Regions from separate parts of the Homo sapiens genome. Here region 1 is linked to region 2. Evidence: promoter capture Hi-C in 16 types of primary human blood cells and fetal thymus (Javierre and others, 2016). All regions are on one chromosome and are shown on one strand. The core of a region is centred on a gene start or on the middle of the fragment in contact, and the rest is flanking DNA. Distances in the headings are between cores, read along the strand shown. Region 1 overlaps CRLF1 (cytokine receptor like factor 1). Region 2 holds the start of COMP (cartilage oligomeric matrix protein).

Evidence for each region. Contacts are between HindIII fragments. The CHiCAGO score rates a contact against its expected background, and 5 or more counts as called.
Region 1: a fragment that was not itself captured here is called in contact with the fragment with the promoter of COMP in region 2 in 1 of 17 cell types (M0 macrophages); the score reaches 5.9 in M0 macrophages.

Annotation. Positions count from the first base shown.
Region 1 is chr19:18,599,789-18,605,763 of GRCh38, forward strand. CRLF1 (cytokine receptor like factor 1) reads right to left here. Exons shown (of 9, transcript NM_004750.5): 2 at 1-58. Among named protein-coding and RNA genes, the nearest start is that of CRLF1, 4.0 kb to the right of the region's middle. The HindIII fragment of the contact is 4,529 bases long and covers 1-3,515 here.
Region 2 is chr19:18,790,055-18,796,828 of GRCh38, forward strand. It overlaps COMP (cartilage oligomeric matrix protein), which reads right to left and starts at 1,251. Exons shown (of 19, transcript NM_000095.3): 1 at 1,137-1,251; 2 at 796-881; 3 at 508-559; 4 at 1-60. The coding sequence starts at 1,215. RefSeq lists enhancers at 1-410, 411-991, 992-1,570, 5,126-5,655. The HindIII fragment of the contact is 6,208 bases long and covers 1-2,914 here.

The DNA of each region.
Region 1 (5,975 bases), core at 1-2,500, 190 kb before region 2:
GCCAGCAGGGAGGAGCCGATGAGAAGCGTGGGATCCTGGGGACTGATCACAGCTGTGTCTGGGGTCAAAGAGGAACACGTGTCAGGCCAGGGCGGGGACCCTCCAAGCCCCCAACCATGCCAGGACCTCCAGGGTTCATGGTGGTCCTGAAAAGACGCTGTTAATGATTGTCCCCCATTTTACAGATAGGGAAGGTAGAGATCAGTTGGGTTAAATGCCCAGGGCAACACTGGTGGCCAAACTGACAGACCTGGAGTTGTCCAGGTCTGTCTGACTCCAACACTGGATCCTTCCAAAACTCTTCATCACTGACATGCTTAAGGTTCTCTGAGGGGTCACACAACTCGGGCATAGAGGCTCATTCGGATCCAAGTGACTCTTGCTTAGCACATCGTTATGACAAACACTATGCTTTGCTTTTTTTTTTTGAGACGGAGTCTCGCTCTGTCGCCCAGGCTGGAGTGCAGTGGCACGATCTCGGCTCACTGCAACCTCCGCCTCCCGGGTCCAAGCAATTCTTCTGCCTCAGCCTCCCGAGTAGCTGGGACTTCAGGTGTGCACCACCATGCCTGACTAACTTTTGTATTTTTTTTTTTTTGAGACGCAGTCTTGCTCTGTCGCCCAGGCTGGAGTGCAGTGGCACGATCTCGGCTCACTGCAAGCTCCGCCTCCCGGGATCATGCCATTCTCCTGCCTCAGCCTCCCAAGTAGCTAGGACTACGCGCCCGCCACCACGCCTGGCTAATTTTTTGTATTTTTAGTAGAGACGGGGTTTCAGCATGTTAGCCAGGATGGTCTCGATCTCCTGACCTCATGATCCATCCGTATGGGCCTCCCAAAGTGCTGGGATTACAGGCGTGAGCCACTGCGCCTGGCCAAGTTTTGTATTTTTAGTAGAGACGGGGTTTCACCATATTGGCCAGGCTGGTCTTGAACTCCTGACCTCGTGATCCACCTCCCTCGGCCTCTCAAAGTGCTGGGATTACAGGAGTGAGCCAATACACCCAGGCATGCTTTGCTTTTTATTTTTTTAGCGACAGGGTCTCACTCTGTTGGCCAGGCTGGAGTGCAGTGGCACGATCATAGCTCACTGCAGCCTCGATCTCCTGGGTTCAAGTGATCCTCCCTCATCTCAGCTCCCAAGTAGCTGGGACTACAGGTGTGCACCACCACACCTGGCTGATTTTTAAATATTTTTTTAGAGATGAGGTCTCGCTAGTTTGCTCAGGCCGGTCTTGAACTCCTGGCCTCAAGCGATCCTCCCACCTTGGCCTCCCAAAGTCCTGGGATCACAGGCATGAGCTTCGGTGCCTAGCCTTCTTTATTTTTCATTCTCATTTTGTTTTTCTTTTTTGGCAACTAGAAACAAAAGATTGTGGGTTCTTCCTGTGATGCTCCCAGAGCCTCACACATAGTAGGTGTTTCTGTGGGGGAAGGGCACTGCTTAAAATGAAAGCCCTGACCCTTACTTGAATCATTAAGAGCACCATGTTTTTTTTTTTTTTGAGACGGAGTTTTGCTCTTGTTGCCCAGGCTGGAGTGCAATGGCACGATCTCGGCTCACCGCAATCTCCGCCTCCCAGGTTCAAGTGATTCTCCTGCGTCAGCCTCCCGAGTAGCTGGGATTACAGGCACACATCACCGTGCCCGGCTAATTTTTGTATTTTTAGTAGAGATGTGGTTTCACCGTGCTGGTCAGGCTGGTTTCGAACTCCTGACCTTGTGATCCGCCTGCCTCAGCCTCCCAAAGTGCTGGGATTACAGGGGTGAACCACCGCGCCCAGCCTGTATTTTTAGTAGAGTCCAAGAATCGCCATGTTGGCCAGGCTGGTCTCGAACTCCTGACATCAAGTGATCCACTCGCCTCAGCCTCCCGAAGTGCTGGGATGACAGGCGTGAGTCATTGCGCCTGGCCTAACAGCACCATTTATTGAGCACTTGTTGTGTTCTGAATACTGGGCTAAGACTACCTACATTTTCTCGGCCAATCCTGCTTATATGTTAAAGATGAAAAAACTCCGGCTCTGAAAGATGGAGTTTCCTTGCTGGAATGAGGGAAGGCCATACTAGTTAGGCCCAGATTTTCTGGTCTCCAAAGTTCTGTTCCACACTGCCTACCTCTGGAACTAAAGGCAGCCCTGGCAAACTGCACGTCCCCAACTCCCATCCAAAGGGACTTGACATCATCGCTGTTTCCCTCCACTCAGTTTTCCTCATCTGCAAAGTGAGAACGAGAAAGCTCTTTGTCTCCTGGGGTATTGTGAAAGTCAGAGGGGAAAGGACTTCCTGAACCAGGTTGTGTGTGAGTCAGGTACTAGGCACAGGAAACTTGGGGACGCCCATGGGTGGTTGATGCCTCTCTCTCCTGCTGGCCATCAGGGCAGCCCAGGAGTTCCCCTTCTGGAGACCAGAACCTTGTCCATAGGGAAACCAAGGCCCAGAGGAGGAGGGGGTGCACAGGCCAACCTCCCAATGCCTCTCTGAGTCTCAGTTTCCCCATCTGGAAAGTGGACATCATGGCGTCAATGTCATGGGGTTGGCTGGGTGCGGTGGCTCATGCCTGTAATCCCAGCACTTTGAGAGGCTGAGGTGGGAGGATCACGTGAGGTCAAGAGTTTGAGACAGCCTGGGCAACATGGTGAAACCCTGTCTCTACCAAAAATACAAAAATTAGCCAGGTGGGGAGGGGGTGGTGGCCCCATGCCTGTGGTCTTAGCTACTTGGGAGGCTGAGGCAGGAGGATCGCTGGAGCCCGGGAAGTTGAGGCTGCAGTGAGCCATGACTGCACCACTGCACTCCAGCCTGGGTGACAGTGAGACCCTGTCTCAAAAAAGAAATAAAAAATTTAGATTTAAATTTATAAAAACCAACAAAACAAACCTCATGAGGTTGTTTGAGAGGAGTGAAAATATTGTTGGAGACAATATTTTCCCATGAGATCTTTAAACCAAGTTGACCTGGACTCGAATGCCCCCAGCCTGACTCAGTGTTCTACTTTTTTTTTTTTTTGAGACAGAGTCTCACTCTGTCACCCAGGCTGGAGTGCAGTGGCACAATCTCGGCTCACCATAACCTCCACACCCAGCTAATTTTTGTATTTTTAGGAGAGACGGAGTTTCGCCATGTTGGCCAGGCTGGTCTCGAACTCTTGACCTCCAGTGATCCACCCGCCTTGGCCTCCCAAAGTGCTGGGATGACAGGCGTGAGCCACTGCACCCGGCCTCAGTGTTTTACTTCTTTGAGCCTCTGGAAAGGGGCTTCTCGTTCCACACAGAGTGGTTGTAAAGACTCATCCACGCCTTTGTTCGTTCACGCGTTCATCTATTCATTCACAGGGTACCTATAGTGTGTCCGGATCTGTGGGCACTGGGGTGATGCCCAAGACACACAAAAGTCCTGCCCTTGTGGGCATCAAATCCAAGGAAGCAGCAGGAAAAAGGAATAAATAAATATCTAAGACAATAACTAGGGGAGAAAGTAAAGCAGGGGCTGGAGGAAGACAGAGCAGCGGCAGAAGCTTGGGAGGCCTGTCTGGGGAGGTGACCTTTGAGCAGAGACCTGAATAAAGTAAGAGAAGTAGCTGTGACATTATCTAACAGAGCATGTCCAGGCAGTGGGAGCTGCAAGTGCCAAGGTCCTGGGGCAGAAGCGGTGGGAAATGAGGTTTGAGAGGTCAGAGACCCTGACCTGCAGGGAGGAGGGATTCCAGGGTTCTCAGCCGGGGAGGGAGGGATGCGGTGAGATATGCGTTAAAAGGACTCCCCAGGCGGCTGGAAGAAGGGACTGCAGGAGGCAGGGGCAGCCCAGCTTCGCAGAGATGGCAGCCAAGGACAGGGTGATCCTGGCCCCCAGGGAGGCCCCCTGAATGCCAGCGCTGCCCTGCACTTGCCCTCACTGCCCCAGATGGGCGAGGTGGGGTGGACACGGTTCTTGGGCCGGCCCTGATGATTTTCCGGGGCAAACTTGGCTCGAGGGCTCTGTCTCGCTGGAGCCTGGAATCGCAGTTGCGCTTGGGGCTTGGCCCAGGGCTCGCCGGAGGTCTCCGCGTCCGTGCGAAGGAGCCGGCTGAGCGGGCCAGAGCCGAGGAGGCGGGGGCGGCCGAGGGGGGCGGGGGGCTGGGGGCCAGGGGACCGCCCTGGAGGTCCCAGGCAGCCAGCCGCCCGCTAATTCGGAATTCCTTTTGCATGAACTCGGGTGTGCCAGCGTCTCTGCCCCGGCCCACCCACCGCTTCCTGCCTGGGCCCCCCCAACAGAGTGGGAGGCACGGCCAGGCCTGCCCAGACCCCAGGCCCCTCTCAGCCCTTCTAGAGTGGGTCTCACTCCTCCTGCCCCCACCACCCGCCAGCTTGGCCTGGGCAGGAAGGGGCTCTCTGGGGGGTCCTGGCTGGGGGGCGCTGCCCCTCTGCCACACCCGCCTGGCCTGGGCCGGCGTGGCTCACTTGCCAGCAGCTGCAGCTGCCCTCCCGGGGCTGGGCGGGGGACACCGGGCGGCGACGGGTTGTAGGGGGAAGGCAAGGCCAGGCGGGCCTGGACAGACCAATCTCCCACCCCCTTAGCCCCAGCCGGTAAGGTCAGAAGGACACTTTCTCCTCCCGGGATATGGGCGCAACACCAGTGGGAGAACCTGGCCAATTGACTTCCCCTCTCCAGTTCTCAATTTTCTCCTCCATAAAATGGGAGGAGAAATACGTTCTACTTGCTGGGGAGATCAATGAGATGTGATTGCAATCCAATGTCCAGAGGGCTCAGAAGCCTGAAGCCCCCAGGAGCTGCAAAGATGACAGCCCCTCCCAGCTCTGGGGTCCCGGCTGACTAGGCACTCCCTCCAGGCCTCCACAAACAATGGGCTAAGGCGCTGGGGACAGAGATGCACGCACTCCAGGCCAGGCAGGGGAGCAGCTGGGAACAGCCCACTGAGCCGGAGTTGGTGGGGGCTTGGCTTGGTTTGGAGGGCCTCCTAGGGCTCCCCAAAGCAGATCCCTAGGTTGGGCTTTTGAACAGCTCCCTTTTCACTCCCTGCCTCCCCTCCTTTCCCGCAGAGCTGGGGCCTTTAAAAGTTTTTTCTCTCCTCTTTTCCCAATCTGGAGCCACTGCCGTTATTAAAAAGGAACACCATGTGTTTTAAAAGGGAAAAGTGTGAGATTCTCTGCAAGCAGGGCGGAAGGGTGGCCTCCATCCCAGGGTCCCCACGGGGGTCCCCATCTCCCGTCCCGCTGGTACCTGCAGACACTTTACGACCCACCCGCCTGCTGGTCAGGTGCTAAGACACACCGTAAGTAGAAACATATTGCCGAGGTGTGAGAATCTTTTATTTAATTTCTTCCCCCCTTAAAGGAAAAAACACACTTACAGTGCCCCCCCACCCCCTACACCTTCGCCTGCTGCTCTACTGGCTGAAAACAAAGCTTGGCGCTCACAGTGGCACTCACAGGCGCTGCCCACCGCCTGGCAGAGCCGTCAGGGGCCCTGGGAGGGCCCGAGGTAGCCCCTCACCTGAAAGCCAGGGGAGAGCCAGGCTTTCAGCAAGTGCCCCTAGAAGATGCCCGGACCCTGCCCCTTCCCGGAGGAGCCCTACAGGCAGCCCGCAAACAGCCCAGCACAGGGTGGATGAGCCTGGGAGCAGTGTGTGCCCGGCGACCCCCGGGGTGGCCCGTGCGCCTGGATGGGGTGCGTGGAGTGACTGAACATCTGGGGCGAGTGGTGCCTGCCTCTGTGCCCCTGGGTCGCCTCCCCTGTGGGATGTGTGTGACCGTGAATGTGTGTGTCGGGGATGGAATGTGTGTGCGTCCGCGATGGTGCGCGAATGTGCACCTGGGATGCAGTGTGCGCGAGTTTGAGGGCGAGGGTGACGGGCCACAAGCCAGTGTGATTCTTTGTGTGTCTCTGGGTGTGTCCCAGAGCGGGTCTGCATACGGAGACGTATCCTTGCGGGGGTGTTCCTTGGATGGGGGGCCCCAGAGTGCCTGAGGCCAGAA
Region 2 (6,774 bases), core at 1-2,500:
GCGCGCAGTGGAGCAGGGGCCGCACGCTGGGTAGGCCGGTGCGTACTGACTGCTGCATCCCTGCGGGGGGGAGGGGGGAGAAGCGGCGGGGCTGATCGGTGGCTCGCCCGGGGGCAGAGCCTATCATGGCCACGCCCCGGGGCTGGAGGCTTCCCCTTCCCCCCCACCCCCCGCCCCGGGGCGGCCCGAAATCCTGCGCTGTCCGCGATCCCGCCCCAGAGGCTGCGCGCTCTGACCGCGGGGTCTCCCCGGTCTCTTCTCTGAGTCTCTGTCCCGCTTTTCTGCCCCGTGGCGTCTCTCACTTCCCCAAAACTCTCTCACCGCTTCTGTCTCTTTTTGTCTCTGTTTCTACACACCCCATCCCATTCCCGTTCGTCCGTCCACCTCTCCGTCAGCCTCCATCTCCTTCCGTCTCTTTTCCTCCCCAGCTTTCCCTGGCTCTCTGTCTCTGTCTCTGTGTCTCTGTCTCCCGTCTCTTCTCTCTCCCGACCGCCCCGCCGCGCTCACCGCACGCGTCACACTCCATCACCGTGTTTTTCAGGAACGTGATCTCCCTGACCTGCAGGGGTGGGATGGAATCAGCGGGGTCCCAACCTCTCCTCATCCCTCGGGTCTCCCCTCTCTCTACCCCGGGGTCCCTTTCTACAGCCTCTTTTCGCCAAGGACTCCCTACCCGCCGACCCCCTTCCCTCCCCATCTCCTCTCCACCTTCTCGGGTACTTCCTCTCTCCTCGCTGGGAACTGAGACCCCCTTCCGTTCCCTGGCACTCCCTGCCCCGCACCCGGGCCCCGCACCTGCTGCCGCAGCAGCTCCCGCACGTCCTGCAGCGCCGCGTTGGTTTCCTGCAGTTCCCGAAGCATCTGCGGGCCCAGGTCTGAGCCTGCGGCGGCAGGGGACCTGGTGAGGCGTCATGGGGCCGGGGAATCCCACCACCAACTCCCACCGTTGCAGCGAACCCGGACCTCCGAGGCCCCACTGCGCTCCTCTAGTCTCGGTCCCGCCACCTGCTTTCTGCGCCCGGCACGTCCCCTACGAACAGTCCGTGAGCCCCAAACAGCCTGGATCCCGGGCCTCTCACGGGTCCTACAGTCCGTTGTGGGGCCGTGGGCACGGCGCGGGTGCTAACGCGGCTTACCCAACGGGCTCTGGCCCTGTCCGGACGCGCCGAGGGCAGCCAGGGTGAGCAGAAGAACGCAGGCGGTGTCGGGGACCATGGCGGTGGCGGGGAGCTGGGTGGCTGCTCGCTTTCTACCGCCCACGAGGCCCGCGGGGCCTATTTATCCCCAAGGCACGGCCGGCCCCAGGGACGGCCCACCACAGCCCTGCCCAACGTCCAGCCTCAAGGTAAACAGATGGCGCTGGCCCCTGCGTTCAAGTCCCCGCCCGGAATGCCCCGCGAAGTCGCCCGCGGCTGAATCCGACATGGTGGGGAAACTGAGTCCCGGGGTCTGTGGAGAGAGCTGGTGGGGCAGGGAGTCAGGGGGTACTGCCCCCACTTTCATTCACTGTGTGTGTGCGTCTGTGTGTGTGTGTGTGTGTGTGTGTGACGGGGTGTGGCTGTATCGCATCCTCTTGCTTCAGTCTCCCATGTAGCTGGGACTACAAGCCCGCACCACCAAGTCCAGCTAATTTATTTTTATTTTTATTTTTATTTTTAGAGACCGGGTCTGGCTATGTCCTGCAGGCTAGTAGTCTCAAACTCCCGGCCTCAAGCGATACTCCCCACATAACTGGGATTACAGGATCCAGCCATAGCATTCAGCTCATTGATTGATTGATTGATTGAGTGCTTGCTGTATGCCAAACCTGAGTTCCAGTTCCAAACAAGGCAGGCTCCATGGCCACGCTCTCAGCTCACACTTCGGGAAACAGAGTCACCAGCGTCTGAAAAAATAGGTCCACCCACTATGGATCAGACTGACTGGCCCTCCACTCCTCCTGAAGTGCTTCAAAACTGGGTAAGTTGCTGGGTGCGGTGGCTCACACCTGTAATCCCAGCACTTTGGGAAGCCAAGGCGGGCAGATCACCTGAGGTCAGGAGTTTGAGACCAGCCTGGCTAACATGGTGAAACCCCATCTCTACTAAAAGTACAAAAATTACCCAGGCGTAATTCCTCCCTTGCACAATGGAGGTAATAAGTTAATAATTATTAATTAATGATTAATAGTAATGATGATTATGATGATGAATGGAAAATAGGGGAGGGGCAGTTGAGACCTGGGACTCTCAATTTTCCTGCCTCTGTCCAAGGAGGCCGCTTCTGGCCCCAACGCTGGAGGGCTGCAAATGACTCCCCCCAACCCAACTCATTGCTGGTGTTCCCTCCCCTCCCCATGGTCCCTCGGCTGGTGGAGGAGGGGACAGCGTTCAGGATCTTGCCCCAACCCCTGTCCAAGGGGACAGGCCCACTTGGTTTTCCAATCTGCGCAATGGGGTGTGAGGCCCCCATCTGGAGGGGAGCAAGTTAAAGGGCTCTAGCAAGGGGAGGTCCGGGGCTTCTGTTTGTCCAGGCTGTGCCATACCTTCCAAACTGTGCTCCAGCTGCTGTGGGAACAGCCTGTAATAAAAATAAAAGTTACCGCTAACTGGCCAGCCACACTCTGGAGTTACAAAACCCCTTAACCTCCTGCAATCAGTTAACACTCTCCACTCCCACCTTCCAGTACTCACAGCGTCTATTCTATAGACAGAGAAACTGAGGCCCAGAGAGAAAAAGTGACTGGCCTAAGGCCACTGCCCGAGGGCAGGGGTGAATCTAGACTCAGAGCCAGATATGTTTTCTGGGGAGCCTACAGAGAAGTCACCGAGGGCTTCCTGGAGGAGGTAGCAAGGAGACAGACATAAAAGAAAAGGAGGACTTGGATCAGCAGAGGGAAAAGGTGAGGGCAGTTTTGGTGGAGGGAAGCATGTGAAGCTTGGAGGTGGGGACATTTCTAGACACAATAATTATTTCACAAACATCAAGGACTGTTGTGTGTCATGTCTCCTGTGCTGGGTGATGGGCACACAGGGTGAAGAAGCCAGACCCAGTCTCTCCTTCAAATGGGGAGCCCAGTGGGCTCATGGCTGTGACGGGACACACAGACAATGGTAGGAGTCCCCAGGAAATTGATCTGTTTGAAAGGGGATGGGTCAGGGCGGGCTTCTGGAGGAGGAGGGACCACCAAGCTGAGGACCGGATGATGAGGAGGACACAGCCAGGCAGAGGTAGCAGAAAGTCATTCCAGGTAGAGGAAACAGCATAGGCAAAGGCCCTGAGGCAGGAACCAACCTGGCCCGTTGGATGGACTGACCTCAAGGTGACAAGCTCTTGGGGCTCAGTGAGAAGCAGGAGATGAGGCTGTGTGTGAAAGGGCAGTGCTGGTGGTGTGGGGCTCCAGTGGTCTCCCGAGGGTAATGGGGAGCCACAGAGAGTGCGTGAAGAGAGACAGGCCTATAAGTGGAGTGTTGGTGGAAGCAGCTGGTCCCAGCCAGAGCATTTCCAATGAAGCCTGTCCTCAATAGTGCCTGCCCTGCCTGCTGCCTACATTGGGGCCATGAGCTCACCTCCTGTTTTCCTTGGCCTTCAGCACACCTGGGGGCCGCTCCTGGCAGCACTGGAATTCTCGGGAAAACCACAGCTCCAGTGGGGCCTGGGGGCTGGCATATGCTGCACACAGCTAGGACAGGAGCACATGGAAGCCAGGCCCCTGCCACAGGCTGGTCACAGTGCTGGGGCTTGGACACACGTGGCCTTATCCATGGCTGGGCCACGGGGAGTTGCAGGGAAGGGCATTCCAGGCGGAGGGAACTACAAAGGTGGAGTTCCTGAGGGTGTCCCAAGATCGGACAACAGAGGCCCGGAAAGGGGATGTCTGGGGTCACACTCCTGCCTCCTGGATCTCGCCAGCCCTGAAATCCCCCTTCTAGGCAGCAGTCCCCTCCTCCTGTGCACACCACACTTGCCTCAGATTACAGAATAACTCACTGTAGGTGTCATTCTGGGCCTTTGTACCTGCTGTTCCCCCCACCTCGTACAAACTCCTCCATCCTTCAAGGTCCAGCTATAATGTCCCCTCCTCCAGGAAGCCTTCCCTGCTGATATTCTCCAGATAACCTTCCAGCCTAGCCATGATCCTCGGGACTGTGAGTGTCTGTGGTTTGCTCTGTCCCTCCGAGCCTGAGGGGCTCCCACCCAGGGGCCTGGACTGGTGTAGAAAGGTTAGGCTGGAGGGCTTGGTGAGCCGGGACAGCATCCCTATGATTCGTGTTCATTACTATTTTTTTTTTTTTTTTTTGAGATGGAGTCTCACTTTTGTCGCCCAGCTGGAGTGCGATGGTGCAATCTCGGCTCACTGCAACCTCTGCCTCCTGAGTTCAAGTGATTCCCCTGCTTCAGCCTCCTGAGTAGCTGGGATTACTGGCACCTGCCACCACGCCCAGCTAATTTTTTTATATTTTTAGTAGAGACGGGGTTTCACCATGTTGGCCAGGTTGGTCTCGAACTTCTGACCTCAGGTGATCCACCTGCCTCAGCCTCCCAAAGTGCTGGGATTACAGGCGTGAGCCACCGCGCCTGGCCATTACTACTTTTTATAATTAATGTAATGTCATTACTATTTTTTTTTTTTTTTAAAATAGAGATGGGGGTCTTATTATGTTGCCCAGGCTAGTCTCGAACTCCTGGGCTCAACAGATCCTCCTTCCTCGGCCTCTCAAAACCCTGGGATTTCAGCCACTGCACCCAGCCAACATTATCATATGAATCCTAGTAACCCCTGCCACCTCTGTACTTGATATGGCAGGGAAGGGGGCCACACAGCCTGGGTTCAAATATTGGTGAGCATGGCCTTACTGTGTGACCTAGGACAAGTCACTTAACCTCTCTGTGCTTCAGTTTTCTCACCCATAAAATGAGGATGATCACTGTTGAGAGGATTGAATGAGCTGACCCATGGAAATCCTTCAGCCCAGCGCCCAGCTCCAGCGCTACTAGCGTGCTTATTCCATATGAAATTTATACACCGTGGGCCAGTGTGGTGGCTCACACCTATAATCCCAGCACTTTGGGAGGCCACAGCAGGTGGATCACCTGAGGCCAGGAGTTCGAGACCAGTGTGGCCAACGTGAAACTCCATCTCTACTCAAAATACAAAAATTAGCTGGACGTGGTGGCGCGTGCCTGTAATCCCAGCTAATCGGGAGGCTGAGGCAGGAGAATCACTTGAACCGGGGAGGCAGAGGTTGCAGTGAGCCGAGATCACATCACTGCACTCCAGCCTGGGCGACCGAGTGAGACCTTGTCTCAAAAAAACAAAACAAAACAAAAAAACTTATACCCTGTGCCTGTCGCTTATACCTCAGATCGTTCTTATTTCTATCTTACTCAGAGAGGAGAAGAGACAGTCTGAGGTCACACAGCCAGAATTAGAACTGAGGCATGCAAGACCCTCAAGCCCTTCATACCCGCCCTCTCTGTCCTTGCCACAGAAACAGAATCCAGCATTTCGCTGGCCCGAGCCCCTCATTAACTGGGATGTCTTCTCGGCCCAGGACCTCCTGGCCAGAGCATCTGGCCGGCGCCCCAGCCAGCCCCACACCAGGCCCCGTGGTTCCAGGAGCCCGGCCAGGCTGGGGAAGAGGGACGGGTGCCTGCATGATGGGGCCCCGGGGCCCTTCCTGGCAGACGTCTGCTCAGCCAGGAGACGTGTGGGCGCCCCGGCTCCCTGCCTCCCGCCCCCACCGTTGCCTGCCTTTGTGAATGCAGAAGGAAAGTATGTTGTGAAGGCAGCCGCCCTGCCCTGGGCGGGCCGGGCTGTAGGCCCCCAGTCTGCGGAATTCATCAGGGCGGCAGGGGAGGGCAGCTTGGCGACCTCTGCATCCTCAGCCTGCCTTGAACTGGGAGAGACGTACTGGAGGCATCTCTCTAGAAGGAACAAAAGGCAGGGGTGGGATGGGGGGCTCTGAGCTTTGAAGTCCAGGAGACGCCCCCCGACTGGCCGTGTGACCTTTGGCAGGTGCCACCTCCTCTCCCAGTCTCCTTTTTTTTTTTTTTTTTTTTGAAACAGGGTCTTGCTCTGTTGCCTGGCCTGAAGTACAGTGACAATCATAGCTCACTCATTGCAGCCTCCAACTTCTGGGCTCAAGTGATCCTCCCACCTCAGCCTCCCAAAGTGCTGGGATCACAGATGTGCACCACTGCACCCAGCCCCATTCTCCTTTTACTCAGTCCCTACCCCCATTGCATCCCAGGCTCTACTGGATGGCGATAAAGGAAGAAGACAACAATAAATACAGTGGCTACAGTTTTCTTGAGCAAGTGCCAAATGCTTGAAACCTTACCACTCAGCCTTTGTGGGTTTTCTCTTTCTGTCATCCCTTAAGTCCCAGAAGGCAGGAATTTGTCATCATGGGAGACAGTGGGGCACAGTGATGAAGGTCTCAGTCTCTGGCATCAGAGCCTGAGTTTCATATCCCAGCTCTGCTGTGGTACATGAGGCAAGTTGCTTAACCTCTCTGTGCCTCAGTTTCTTCTTTTTTCCTTTATTTCTTCTTCTTTTTTTTGCCACCTTCGAAAGTTTCTTATAATGTAAAATTTTACTTCTCAGGTTACTATACTGAAGAGTTGCTTCAGGAGAGAAAGAATTTCACCAGAGGCCGGGCGTGGTGGCTCACGTCTGTAATCCCAGCACTTTGGGAGGCCAAGGAGGGCGGATGACCTGAGGTCAGGAGTTCAAGACCAGCCTGGCCAACATGGTGAAACCCTGTCTGTACAAAAGTACAAAAATTAGCC